Regions from separate parts of the Homo sapiens genome. Here regions 2, 3 and 4 are each linked to region 1. Evidence: promoter capture Hi-C in 16 types of primary human blood cells and fetal thymus (Javierre and others, 2016). All regions are on one chromosome and are shown on one strand. Each heading gives the region's core, a stretch centred on a gene start or on the middle of the fragment in contact. The rest is flanking DNA. Distances are from core to core; before and after follow the strand shown. Region 1 holds the start of NEIL3 (nei like DNA glycosylase 3). Region 2 overlaps SPCS3-AS1 (SPCS3 antisense RNA 1). Region 3 has its middle 15 kb from the start of SPCS3-AS1. Region 4 has its middle 59 kb from the start of SPCS3-AS1.

Region 1 (3,589 bases), core at 343-2,842:
AACCTCAGGCGATCTGCCCACCTCAGCATCCCAAAGTGCTGGGATTACAGGCATGAGCCACTGCACCCGGCCCACACCTCAGCTTTGCTACTTCCCTGGGGAAGCCTTCCCAGGTCTTCCTACAAGTCCTTAAAGAATCGTGTATCTCTCCTTCACAGAACTTATTAATTTATATTTCTTTAGGTGATTATTTAATGAATGTCTTTGTGTCTTCCCAACTGAAGTATAGGCTCCAAAAGAGGAAGTATTTGTTTTTGCTCCCCAGGTGTCTTGAGTATTCAAAATTTTATTGAATGAGTAATTTTCATAAATATTAATATTCTTAAGAAACCATCTAAAATCCATCTCTGTGGTACCCTGAAACGATTTTAGAAACACTATAACAATAATAAAAAAAAATAGGTACAGAGTACTTACTGGCATATCAAGTCAAAATAAACAAAAGGGCAATTGGAAGGAGATGTAAAACTTATTTTTTCCCAAGTTTGAAAATATATTTTCTTAGACTTAGAACCTCATTTCTTTCAAGTTGTAAGCATATGCTAATTTCATAGCAGGCAACTTTTTCTTCCAGGACCAAAGGCTATAAGAAGCTTTGCAGAAGAAATTGAAATACAGTGCAATATTGCATGTAGGCATGAAATACAATCATCCATACATCTAGAGGGCTTTTAAAACATGATGCCTTAATCAGAATATTTTTAGTACAAGTTCTGGCCAAATGAATACCACATCGTCTGCAATGAATGCCTGAGTGGCAAGAAGCTGTGCTAGTTTACTTTAAAAAGAAATAAATTCACTTAAGGGAACCAGAACTGGGTTTCATTGCCCCTTAATTAGATGGCAATATGAAGTTGAGTGAGAAGTTAGTGCTAAATTTTCTACGTGTAGTTTTAGAATTATATACTAGTTGTGATATACTTACCAATTGCAGATTAGCCAAGCAAGAAAGTAGAATTTTATGCTAAAAGCTTAAAATGGGACGAAGAAAACATATCAGAGGTAGCAGAGATTTGATAATATCAATAGTAAAAAATGCAGCTGTAGACATGGGAAACCATGTGTGTATCATAAAGAAGTTAAGTAAGGTGACTCGGATAAAACACCTTCACTGGATTCCCCTAGGGCATCTTGCTCCGGCAGCGTGAGCCCAGAACGCTAGCCCTCCTCTCCTGCGCAGGCGCGCTAGGACCGACTTCTCCCTACAGTAAAGTGACGATAAACTCTGTGAAAGGTGGGACCCCAGGAAACCTGGGCCAGAGCAAAGAGATGACACTTTAAATCCTGGAACCCTGATGGGGTCTTTATTCCATTTCCCCCCTGCTGACTGCATGGCCTGTTACAGGAGTAGCTCACCTGCGGGGAGACCACAACCGTGGAGGCTGCGAGCCGCAAGGCGCGGCCCTGCAGACTCCGCAGAGCGCTTCCCCGCACGCCGGTCACCGCCTGGCCCGGGAGCACCCGCGCGCGAATCTTCTCTCCATTCAGAGTACAGCCTGGTCCTTCCACCATCTCTGTGGCCGGCACTGTGGCCCACCGATTGCAGGGCCTGGTGAGAATACCGCTGTGCAACTCAACGCTGCGCGGGCACTGACCGCACGCAGAGGAAATTCAAATCTCGCGCGCGTCTGGCCCCGCCCAGGCCCCGCCCAAACAGCACCCTAGCTGTTGAGGTCGCTCCCTACGGCGCATGCGCTGTGGTTCACCCCCGCCCTAGGTCTTGCTGTGGGTTTATTAAGAAAACGCAAACGCGCGTGGGGCGGGGGGCGTGGAGGACAACTAACTAGGCTGAACTGTAAAAGCAGAAGAAATTGGGACTTGGAAAGCTCTGAATGTATTTTCTTTGCGTTAAAGTTTTGCCCTTGTCTTTGAGCTACTTAGTATACACACATTTTCTGATCTGGTCCTCTTAATCTGTCCTTGTCTGTGACAGGACAGATATGTCACAGACAATCTTGTTTTTGGCTCTGTTTTTGGCATGCTATATTCGGACGTGGGTGGGATAAGAGAAACGAAGAAGAGGGTTTTTGGAACAAACAGCAGAATATATTCTAGTGTCTATATTTAAAAACTCCATTATTAGATAGTTAAGTGAGCCCTACCTAAGTGCATGCATCCATTTTGTAAGGGGACGCCCCAAGATGAAAGCTATATGAAATTGCTTTGTTAAACGTAGAGGTTTATATAAATTTGAGGGTAATGCGTAGCTTTTCAAATTTACCCACAACCCTAACCAAAGATGCATGCATACATATAAATCTATGAAGTTTATGACTCCATATAGTTTTGTAAATTATAAAGTGTATTCTTTTTTGAAAACTGAAATACTACACATTAAAACAGAATGTCAATTTCTAAGTGATTTCATAAGCATAGCACTGTGCTGCCGTTAAACCACAAGAGCATATACACAGGTGGTTGCTGACTTAGGATGCCCCAGCGTAACAGTGTTTTGACTGTATGATGGTGCAAAAGTGACACACAGTAGAAACTGTACTTTGAGTACTCATATAGCCATTCTGTTTTTCATTTTCAGTACAGTAGTCAATAAATTATTCAACACTTTATTATAAAATATGCTTTGTGTTAGGTGATTTTTCCCAACTGTAGGCTAATGTAAGTGTTCTGAACACATTTAAGGAGGGCCTCGTGAAGCTATGATGTTTGGTAGGTTAGATATATTAAAGGCATTTTCGACTTACTGTATTTTCAGTTTACAACGGGTTTATCAGGACATAACCCCATCGTAAGTTGAGGAGCATCTGTATACTAGAGAGTTGAATTTGAATATACTGAAGACTTGATTGAAATTTTGAAAAGTATTAAATCTTTCCTTTGCAGGGAGAGATTAGTGATCAAAAGTTGGCTGGATCAATTTCAGGACTATTTGTACTTTACTCCCTTGTTCAATTCAATAATCTCTGTCCTTTGATGGAGAAAAGTCCTATATACCTTCTCCTCTTTCAGCGTTGTACTAGTTATTTATTGTTACCTCATCAATTATCCCATTTGTTATTTCAAAGTTTCTGTGGGTCAGGAATTTGGCAATAGTCTAGCTAGCCAGAGTCATCCTGGCTCAGCATTTCTCAAGAGGTTACAGTTAAAATATTAGCCAAGGCTAAAGTGCCCCAAAGGCTTTTTGTAGCTAAAAGATCCACTTCCGAGATGAGTCACTTGCATGGCTGTTGGCAGGAGGCCTCAGTTTCTCACCTCTTGTGTCTCTATAGTGCAGCTCGGCTCTTCTAATGACATGGCAGCTGAGAGTGTGATCCAAGAGAGAAGTCAAGGAGAAAGCTGCAATGCCCTTTATTACTTAGTCACCCTTTATTACTTAGTTTACTATGGTAACTTACTTCTTATTCCATTCATTAGAAGCCAGTCATTAAATACAGTGCATTCACAAGGGGAGGGGAATTAAGCTGTGATTTGAAAGGAGGGATATCAAAGAGCTTGTGGACAAATTTAAAAAATATCAACCTGTTCATTTATCTGATTCACCTCATTTCTCTTTAAGGTGTTGTGTACTGTGCACATTTGGGTCAAATACGATCTTTAATTAGTAAGAGTTGGGGACTGACACTGAAGGCAT
Region 2 (3,589 bases), core at 416-2,915, 990 kb after region 1:
ACAAGACACATTATTATTATAGCATGTTTTAGGGAAATAATTCTTGTTGTTGAACTGCAAGTACAGGTATATCTAAGAGATACTCAGAAGGCTGGTCCTGATAAACAATGCATGTATAAAAGAGTAAGCAGAAATAAGCCTGGAAAGGTAAGTTATGGTAGAAAACCAGGTCAAGAAGTTGACTTTATATCAGGGAAATTACATGTAAAACAAGCATCGCTACACAGGCAACCATTTACCAGTTATATGTGGAGAGTGAGTGATGGACCCAAAAGGAAGACTGATAGGAGGGGCATTTCGGAAACAAACTCTATGTTACTTAGCAACTGCCTAAATAAGAGTGGGGGTCTGCAAAGCATAGAGTGAATGCAGATTGTGAACACTCAAATGAAACTAGTATTATTATTATGACACCACAGTTTTTAACTTGACTTACTGGTAGTGCTAAAAACACATAAAAGTCCACAAAAAGAGCAGGAGAGGGATGGGATAGGGAATTTTCTTATTCTGTTTTATTTTTCCAAGTGTTTCTTTAGATTTTCTAGACATTTATATCACCTACATTAGATATCATTTTGCCTTTTCCGTTCCAATTATTATATTTCCAATTGTTTATTCATTTCAGTAGCTAATATTTCCAACATGATATTCAGTCAGATGGGGACAACTGATATCTTTTTGTTCCTGATTTGAGCAGGAAATTTCCTTTCATTTCTCCATCAAGTAAGATGTTGGCTTTGAGATGGAAATTGTGTGTGTGTGTGTACATGTATCATTATATAATATATATTGCATATTGATAGGAAATATCTATTCCTATTGGGAAATTTTTAAAAATATAAACAAGTGCTAAATTGTTTTCAGATGCATTTTCCCTATCTTATTTCCTCTACTTCTTTCCTCTATCTTATTTCCTCTGCTTATTTAATGGGTTATATGAATAGATTTTATAATATTGGCCCAGTAAGCATTCCTGGAATAAACTCCACCTGGTCATGATGAATTAGTTTTTAATATGCTCTTGTGCTTTCTTTGCTAATTTTGGGGTTTTTTGTTTTTTAGTTTGTGTAATCAATATTCATAGTGAAACTGATGTGTTTTTTTGATTGTAATATTATACTCAAATTAGAAAATATATATTTCTAATATAACAAGGAAAATAAGTTTTCCTTAGTTTTCTGTGCACTGGGATATTTTAAGTAGCATTTGGATCTGGTCTTTAAAAATTTGATAGAAAATTTGGTAGAAATTCCCAAGGGAGTCTATTCTTCTATTTTTTTTAAATTATTAATTGTTAATTCTAATTATGTATACTTGTGCTTTCTACCTTTTTCATTTATTGTTTTAATTAGTATTTTTTCTTGTTTTCTTTCAAAGCACTTCTGCATTTACTAATTAACTCTACTGTTTTCCAACTCATTAATTTTTGGTTTTAACACTATCAACTTTTTTCATTCCACTTTTTTTGTTTATTAGCTTTGGAAATTGGATATTTAGTTGGTATATTTTTCATGTTTATTGTTATGGTAACTGCTTTAGCTGTATCCTAAAATTTCTGACTATGAATTTCCAAGAGAAAGTACCATTTTTCCTTTTGATTGCTTTAAATTAATGTCTGATTTTAAATCATGTAGGCAGAGAATGCTGTTTGTATATTTCTATTCTTTGGATTATTGAGGTCTTCTTTGTGGCCTAAAATGTCACTTTTGTGAAAATTCAATGTGCAACTTGAAAGAAGGTATTTCCTCTTAATAGTATATAGAATTTGATAGATACCTATGAGATCTGCCTTATTGATTATGTTATTTATGTCTTTTACATCTGTAGTAATATTTGTTACCTTCATTTTCTTGGATTCTGAGAGATTTGTTAAAATCTCCAATACTGTGTTTTGTCTGTTTATTCTCACATCTCCTATAGTTTCTCCTTCACAAAAATTGTTGATATATTATTTGGTAAGCAAGTATTAATAATAGTTACATTTTCATTATGAATGGTAGTCTTCAACATTGTAACGTGTTATTTTATTTTTAATGCTTTTTGATGCAAATACTACTAGTCAAACACTGAGGTTGTACTGAAGGAAACTGAGGCTGTTTATCTGAAATAGTATTACAGACCTTAAATTAATACGTAGCATTTTTAAACTAAGTGTCTTGTACTCTTTAATGATTTCAGCTCAGAACCTAGTGGCAGTAATGGGGGGAGCGATTGGCATGCTTTGTCAGCGCTTGAGTAAATAGCGATCAGCTGGGAAAGACATGCCTAACTGTATTTCTGAAGGATAGAAAGAAACCTAGAATAAATGTAAAGTTTTGATCTTCATATTTGCAAATAATTATTCTTCTGTAACACCAAGCTAAGAAGAGGTAAGAACAATAAATCACTTTATAAGGAAATCTTTAAATAAAGCTGTGTGCACATGGCCAGATAATGCTTTTTAAAAAGGGGATAAACTGAAAGATATAATAAAAGCCTTCTTTTTTTTTTTTGAGATGGAATTTCGCTCTTGTTGCCCAGGCTGGAGTGCAATGGCGCGATCTCAGCTCACTGCAACCTCCACCTCCCAGGTTCAAGTGATTCTCCTGCCTCAGCCTCCCGAGTAGCTGGGATTACAGGCGCCCGCCACCACGCCCAGCTATTTTTTTGTATTTTTTGTGGAGACAGGGTTTCACCATGTTGGCCAGGCTGGTCTTGAACTCCCGACCTCAGCCGATCCGCCCGCCAAGGCCTCACAAAGTGCCGGGATTATGGGCATGAGCCACTGCGCCCGGCCAATAAAAACGTTCTAATTAAATATGGTGTTATTGGGAATATCCAAAGAGTCCACAAAGCACCAAGCTCCCCAGGGAAGTTCCTGCAATGGAGCATGTTATAGATCTAGCACATTAAGGACTCAAATGGTTTTCAGAAAGTGACTATGAATTATGTTGTTCATCATAGAGAGTGGGGATCAGGTCTTGTTCATTTTTCTATCCCTTTCAGTGCCCAGGACACTGAGCCTTGCACGTAGTAGATGGTCAAAAAAATTCTTATTGAATTGAGATACCTTGAAATCATAGATCATGATATTTTTGAAAGAATTCTCATGTAAAGCATATATGTCACACACAGGTAACGAACAGTTAAAGTGTAAATGGGTAAAATGGTAAAGTGTAAAGCTAAATTGAATATGTAGGCCAAGGACAAATTGTAAAAGGCTTGAGTGCCAGGCTAATAAGTTTGATCATAATTCAGGAGACAATAACGAACTTTTGAGGATTTTAGATCAGTTGAGTGTCATGACCATGTAGGCTCTCAGTAGATAAGTAATTTCTTTGAGACGGATGCGACTGCCAGTTTGTAGACCAGGCCAGAAGTTATTGCAGTAGGTTTTTGTTATAGTTGTTGTTTTGAAGATACTTGCTTGGTTAATCGAAAGATATAATCAGTCAAGCTGGTAAGTAGACTATTCCAGTGTGATAATTCCAGGAGTGCTATGTTTGTGAATCTCTTTAAAGAGGAAAAAAAAAAAGTTCAGAAGGAAAACCAGTTTTTGGCTAGCAGGTACCCAAATTCCAGACTCTCAAAAGGAAAGGTGGGACATTAT
Region 3 (3,589 bases), core at 580-3,079, 970 kb after region 1:
ATTTAGGCAAAGAGAACTCACACTTGGAAAAACCACTTTGGGAAAGTTTGGTAATATATAGTAAAGATGTTGATATGAATTCCATAAGACTTAGGAATTTCCAATCTTAGGTGTGTATGCTAGAGCAGTGGTCTTCGATTAGGAGGAACATGGAACTTTGTGCATGGTGACAGACAGCTGTATGGAAATCAGCTCTGCTCTCACACGTACTTCTAAAGTGATCTGGCTGGTAATGCGCCCAGGCTTGAGGTTCTTTCCCTCCATCATCCCTTTCACAAAGAAAGCCTCACCTCATCCAGAATCTTGCTATGGTGCACTGCCACAAGGCATCAAACCTTGGGGACAAAGAAATAATTTAATAATTCCCTTAATGAAAGCAACATAAATTATCCCCTCCCATATCTAATTCCATCTCATCAAGAGTTACGATTATCTATCACATTTCTAATATACTTCTTGTTTTGATCAACTGTGTACTATTGATAACTGCAGAATTAACTTACTCCAGAATAACTTTTACACCCTTAGAACTTAGAATATTGGGGTCAGAGGAAATTGTAAAAGATAAATTTCAATTTACATGCACATTTTTGTTACAAAGAAATGTGGTACAGTTATTAATAAAAGACTTGAAAATAGCACTCTCTAGAGTATTACCCATTAGGACAAAATTTTGCTAGAGGCATGTAAATATAATTTGAAAAAGAAATGATAAGAACTTTGACCACTAAGGAAGAATTTGTTCATTAGAAAATGAATGATTCTATCAAATCATATAAATACCATATTCCACTGGATACATTTAGATACATTTTTAAAGTAATGCAAAAAAAAGTAATGTGCAGTTGGTACTTTAAAATGTTAATACTTGCAATGTGCCAAAAATTACATTCTATGACAAGATGAAAATTTTTCAGTATTTAAGAAAGTTTAAAAAAAATCTTTGATGTGCTACACAAGCAACAAAATGTGAAGATCCCTTTCCTAGAGAAACACATACACCAGGCTACCTGTACAAGAACATTCAGAGCACATGTCTGTCAACAGAACAGGTAAATAAATTATGCCTACTCCGGATGCCTACTATGGATGACTATATTACAATGAATTACTGCCTAACAATGAAAATGAACTACACCTTCACACAAAAACATAAATGATTCTCTTAAAGTTAATGCTAAGCCAAAGCAGCAAGACCAAAAATTCTTATGGTAAGATTACATTTATGTTCATAACCAAACCAAACCAAACTGTATCGCTTAGGAATGTGTGATAGCTTATATTACATTTCTAAGAATTCCCTCCTCCTTTCCTGTAAGAGTATTACTCAGTGCCATGTGACTTGTGCTCTTTCCCTATGGAATCTAGCTCCCCAACCCTTCAACTCCTTGGCTTTGCCATGTGACATACTTGAGTCAATTAAAGGAGTAGACTGATGCTCATCACCTTCAATCAGAGGCTCCAAGAGTTTCCAACAGTTCTAACTGCCCTTTGGAATCCCAAAAGGAACTTTTCTCTCAATGTGGAATCTGGAATGAAGAGATGTGAGGAGTATATCCTAAGCCCCTATTGATGCAAGAAATACACATTTGTTTTTGTAAGCCACTGAGATGTTCCTATTGTCCATGATGGCAGTAAAGCTGATAGGATGCAACAGAGGTAGTAAACTTTTCAAGCAAGGCAAGAAAATGGCTAACACAAAACTGAAGACCGCAGAAAGGTAACAGGTTGTGATCCAGAAGAAGTATAGGGAGGGAGGCATGGAGTAATAGTATTGTTCCAACTGCTGATCTGAGTAGTAGTTACAAAGGCACATGCTTTATATTATTCAGTAAACTATATACAAATATCTCATAAACTTTTCCACATTTCCTTTTTTCCATTACAAATGTAAAAAAAAAGGTGAAAGACATTAATTCACAAGGACTTATGAATGTCCTTAGCCTAATACTTTTCAAATATAAGTTACTCCATATACCTCCCTTTACCATTAATGTTAAACATTTATCACTGAGATACTACTAGGAGATAGATTACATTTTACAGTAAAAACCCAGTTCATTTATCCTCTGAAAATCTGTCATGGAATGTCCTGAAATGCCTACCTTACATGAGACAAAACACCTGTGTAAGCCAATATAACTAAAATTAATCACACATTTTTTGCTTTTAATTCAATTTACTCAGTAAATATGTAGTGTCTTATAGTAAAATGAACAAGATAAACATAGCCTTCTTGCTCATGAAACTGACAAACATGAAACATATATATATGTATATATGTGTGTGTGTGTGTGTGTGTGTGTGTGTGTGTGTATATATATATTCCCAAGGGCAGCAAGAGCTATAAATGCTGCTGCAAAGTAAGGAAATAATGTTCCAGGAAAAAAAAATTAAGTACTGGATGATTAGGCTAGAGATTAGATCAGGTAACTCATGCCTGATAAGTGCTTTAAAATCTAACCCTTAACATCTAATATGCTCACCTTCAGAAAATCCTTAATGCACTACAGACAAGACACAAAAAGATAAATAAATGTTGACTATAATAAACTGGTATTCCCTGCTGGGATACAACAGGGGCTGGTCAGCTTAAGCTGGTGAGCATAAGCAGAAAGTGATAGAATGACTATGTGAGAAAGATTTATGCTTCCCATCCACCACATAGTTGTTCCTGAGAAGTGATTACCCAACTAAAGATTGTACTTCCCAGATGCCCCTTGCTTATCTGCACAGGGACGTGCAATTCGTTTTCACCCTTGGAATGCGAGTTGGTGGTGTGATACTCTGGGCGAAGCTAATTAAGCAGGTGGGCCTTCTCCACTCTTTTCCTCAACCCCAGACTGCCAACTTCAAGTGAGGTCTTGTCAACCCTGGGGCGGCAGTCACAAGCTGGAAGACACCTGGGTCCTTCAGTCACACCATGTGGAAAGCTGCCTCAATACCCACATTGGTTCCTTGTAAAAACGAGAAATAAACTTTTGTTTTCTTTTGAGATGGAGTCTCACTCTGTAGCCCAGGCTGGAGTGCAGTGGAGCTCTTGGTTCACTGCAACTTCCGCCTCCCAGGTCCAGGTTCAAGCAGTTCTCCTGCCTCAGCCTCCCCAGTAGCTGGGATTACAGGCACATGCCACCATGCCCAGCTAATCTTTGTATTTTTAGTAGAGATGGGGTTTCACCATGTTGGCTAGGCTAGTCTTGAACTCCTGATGTCGTGATCTATCCCCCTCAGCCTCCCAAAGTGCTGGGATTATAGGCGTGAGCCACCGTGCCCAAACTTTTTCTTATGCTACCAAAAGTTTGATGTCACCTATCATAGCACTTGGTGTTATTTTAACTAACAGAATGTTTAATCAGACTTTCAAATGTTGAGATGAGGGCAAGAGTCAGGTAGCAATCAATCTCTCTCTTAATCTCAATTAAGTGTGATTCCCAGTTAGACTTTTAGTCATCCTGGGTTGTCGGTGCACGTGCAGAGAATTAACAGCATTTAGAGATTCTTAAAGCAGCAGCAGAGGCTGCACAGTTGGATAAGCCATGGATTTCTCAAATAAATTTGAGCGAGACCCACACAACCTTGAGCAGACTTA
Region 4 (3,589 bases), core at 817-3,316, 930 kb after region 1:
ACGGCAAAAAAATCTCATAATGTTTTAAGAAAGTTTACAAATTTGTGTTGAGCCACATTCAAAGCCACCCTGGGCCTCATGTGGCCATGGGCCTTGGGTTGTACAAGCTTGATTGAGCATCATTGGCTTAGGAAAATCTGAGAAAACTTTGTAAGAAGTAGTAAAATATGGATAAATAAACTGAAGCCCATCAAACAAAGGCCTTACATGCTCACCTGAGTGGCTCGAGTTTGGTATAAAAATAATACATACTAGATTCCAAAGTAGAGGAACGATACAGTGATTTAGTGATCTAGTGATTTAGAAGCAAGCAATCTGGCAATCAAGAGCATGATGGATCATGCTGGAAAAAAACTTCAGAGAAGTGGAGAGAATGGATAAAAGCACCTCTAATAATCCCAAAATGAGGTGATGGAGGCCTGAAATGAGACAGTGGTGAGGAGTCCAGCTCCTAGCCAAAAACCTATAATCATCTTTCAAACCCTACCACAGACAATTGCAAAGGATTTACCTGGCAGGCTTCACAGGGAAAAATTGTCCTCCCCACACCAGACTGTGTGCAGCCAGTAAACTGCAGTCTCTGAAGGGAGCTGCAGTCAAGGGCTCAGTCACTCCATCCTCAGCACCATGCGCTTATGCATATCTGCATCTCTAGCCCTCCCTGCATTCAGAGAGAGGAGGTCTCTTCATCGGGTCATTCTGCGGAGGCCTCCTCACTGGGGAGGACACTTGAAGCCTCTTTTTTCTCTCTGACTCAATATTCACTGTTTCCCACACCTAGTCCTCCCCTCTCCAGCTCACCCCCATCCCCACCCCTGGGTCCATAAAATGGCCAGAGCCTTTTGTTCGGGCTCCCGTACGTAGGTGGTGAGATAATTCCCCGCCCCACTCCCCCGTGTGCACTGATACATTGGACCTTCACCCAGTGCCCTTCTGTGGAGAAAAAAGGAACATTAAAATGGTTAAGCTTTTTCCTCTTGCCTATTCTACTACCTTAGAAAGTCATTAAAGGATTGGCTGTTACTTTCACTTTGGCTTGTTGTCTTAATTGACCACTCCACCACGGGCGTCTCAGCTCTCTCCAGCTCAGCTCAGCTCTTGACAGGTGGCAGAGCGAATTTTGAAAAATGTTGAATATAGTAGACACCCTAGCTCTGATCTCCATTCTTGTTTTAAGCAAATCTCCTACACTCTCAGTCCTCAGAACTATAAACTACAATTGTAAAACATTTCTCAGAGAAAAACTTATAATATTTAAATACTAGTTTTAAATTCTTTAAAAAAAGATCATGACAGTGTTTCAATTTCAAATTTACAATATAATATGCTAAAAGTCCATACTTCATGGTCTAGACTAATTTAAATGAAATTTTTGTATCACCAGCATTTGTAATGTAAATCCAAGAGTCGAGAGATCTTTAAATTATTGCATTTCAAAAACATTACTGGAAAATGATAAACTATAGGGACCTAAAGTCTCAAACAACTATGATAGAGATTGAATACCTGACAATCTTTAAAAGTAGGGATGTGAGGAAATGAGGAGAGGATTTATTTGCCTCCATTGTACTCATCTCTAACATTAAATATTCAAGTTCATGGAAAAAGCAATGTGTTTATTTTACGGTGCTCTGATACTGTGATAACTACTGTGACTTCTTATGGGAATATTGCTGCATAACAATTGCCAGAGAAGCTCATCAATCTGTGTTTCTCAAATGTGAGCAGCTCATTAGTACAATCTCCACCCAGGGAACACACAGAGCTCCCTTCTCTGCTTCATCCTGCGATTTCCATCATGTCCCTGGACCATCATTACTATTTGTATTTGTAAAATCCTTCTCTTGCCTCTTCCTTTCTGTTATCATTTGATCACTTTGCCCTAAAAGCTGGATAACTGAGTACTCAGTCACTTCTTCTTTTTTTTTTTTTTTTTGAGATGGAGTCTTGCTCTGTTGCCCAGGCTGGAGTGCAGTGGCATGATCTCCACTCACTGCAACTTCTGCCTCCCAGGTTCAAGCGATTCTCCTGCCTCAGCCTCCCAAGTAGCTGGGATTACAGGCGTCTGCCACAATGCCTGGCTATTTTTTGTATTTTTAGTAGAGAAGGGGTTTTGCCATGTTGGCCAGGCTGGTCTGGAACTCCTGACCTCAGGTGATCCACCTGCCTCAGCCTCCCAAAGTGTTGGGATTACAGGCGTGAGCCACCACCCTCTCAGTCACATCTAAAGGGGACAATGTGTGAATCAATGACAGACATGAGTATTGCTCTCTTCTTTTACTTTGTAAATTCCTATATATGCATTCCTATATATGCATTGATAATAAAACATTTAAGGTTTTACAGAAGTTTTTGAGGAAAAGGCCTAGTACAAAAAGTTTTAAATCTAGTATAGAAACTACCATTAGGTTAGAAAACTAAGAGTTTTCTGCATACAAGATTTTCAGAATGATAGCATATTTCCCTTCTCAAATATTAAACTGTACTGTTTTTCTTAAAATTATTAAATAGTTGTTTAGTATGAAACTATGTTTCTTCTTTTCCTAGCTTTTCTCTAGTATGGTATCTTTTGTCCTGGCAAATAACCACTGTTTAATATACATTCCTTAAAACTAGCTTTTGTATTTAAAAGCTATGTAAATTATATACAAAGTCAAAAATCTTCAATAAATAAAATAAAGAGAAACATGGTAATTTTTATTTCGCCTGGTTGCAAATGGCCTGTAGACAATGAGGATCTATCTAAGGGGCAGGAGCAGGTTAAGGTGGGATCCCTGACAAGCATTCTAGCTCTATGTCCCTCCTTCAGCAAGAGCCACCAGATATGAGCAGAAATTTCTATACTTAAATACAGCACTCAGCCAGGCTGTTTCAATGAACTGATTTAAAATACAAGAATCACAAAACAAATGAAGAGACATCATCAGTTTCCCCACAATGAATTCGAGATTTGTTGAGAAAAACTGGTAATATTCTTCCCTTTTAAGGAAAATATTCCTTGAGGATAAATGATTAATTCCTATTAAAATGAGAAAGTAGATTTAAAACACAAAGATAGTTTGAGAAACATCCAAGGATTCATTGACTTTTGCATTTACTACATTTTCTTTAAAAAGGTACCCTCTCACTTTTAGAAAAAAACTCAATTTACGCAAATTAAGCTTGTTTTACCCAGGTTTTATAAAATCTGCCCTTACCTGACAAGCCCTGTGCTAGGATCAATGGCTAGACATAATGATTGTTTGTGATTGTAGCAGGAATGATTAAAAAGCACATTGTTTCACCCACATCTGCATGAATATATATCACACTACATGACATTTTAAAATTCTAAAGTATGAGTAAAATCATAACCGTACATTGACATCAAGGAGTGATTTGTCTTCTCCTACGCAAGTGCAGATTATTTTACCACAAGTGCAAATTTAAATTCTCTGCATGTCTTCTCTGGCTTCTCATTTATTTTCTAGTTACACATTTTGGAAACTGAGATGGAGATTTTTTAAATAATTAAATAAGAAAATAAAAATTCATCATTGTTTGAATGCAAAATGGCTCAAGTCCCTGATAGGTTAATAGGGAGCATTAT

The links. The method cuts DNA at HindIII sites, captures the fragments that hold promoters and counts their contacts. A CHiCAGO score of 5 or more calls a contact.
Region 2: a contact is called between a fragment that was not itself captured here and the fragment with the promoter of NEIL3 in region 1, in 1 of 17 cell types (activated CD4 T cells). The highest score is 6.4, in activated CD4 T cells.
Region 3: a fragment that was not itself captured here is called in contact with the fragment with the promoter of NEIL3 in region 1 in 1 of 17 cell types (monocytes); the score reaches 5.3 in monocytes.
Region 4: a fragment that was not itself captured here is called in contact with the fragment with the promoter of NEIL3 in region 1 in 1 of 17 cell types (endothelial precursors); the score reaches 5.4 in endothelial precursors.

What each region holds. Positions count from the first base shown.
Region 1 is chr4:177,307,877-177,311,465 of GRCh38, reverse strand. NEIL3 (nei like DNA glycosylase 3) reads right to left here and starts at 1,592. Exons shown (of 10, transcript NM_018248.3): 1 at 1,357-1,592. The coding sequence starts at 1,512. RefSeq lists an enhancer at 1,422-1,511 and a silencer at 1,592-1,711. The HindIII fragment of the contact is 15,817 bases long and covers 974-3,589 here.
Region 2 is chr4:176,314,829-176,318,417 of GRCh38, reverse strand. The region is part of intron 1 of SPCS3-AS1 (SPCS3 antisense RNA 1); the gene reads left to right. Among named protein-coding and RNA genes, the nearest start is that of SPCS3, 3.3 kb to the left of the region's middle. The HindIII fragment of the contact is 4,304 bases long and covers 1-3,589 here.
Region 3 is chr4:176,333,368-176,336,956 of GRCh38, reverse strand. No RefSeq gene overlaps it. Among named protein-coding and RNA genes, the nearest start is that of SPCS3-AS1, 15 kb to the right of the region's middle. The HindIII fragment of the contact is 4,185 bases long and covers 1-3,589 here.
Region 4 is chr4:176,378,021-176,381,609 of GRCh38, reverse strand. It overlaps a transcript of LOC124900817 not described here. Among named protein-coding and RNA genes, the nearest start is that of SPCS3-AS1, 59 kb to the right of the region's middle. RefSeq lists an enhancer at 3,568-3,589. The HindIII fragment of the contact is 2,194 bases long and covers 970-3,163 here.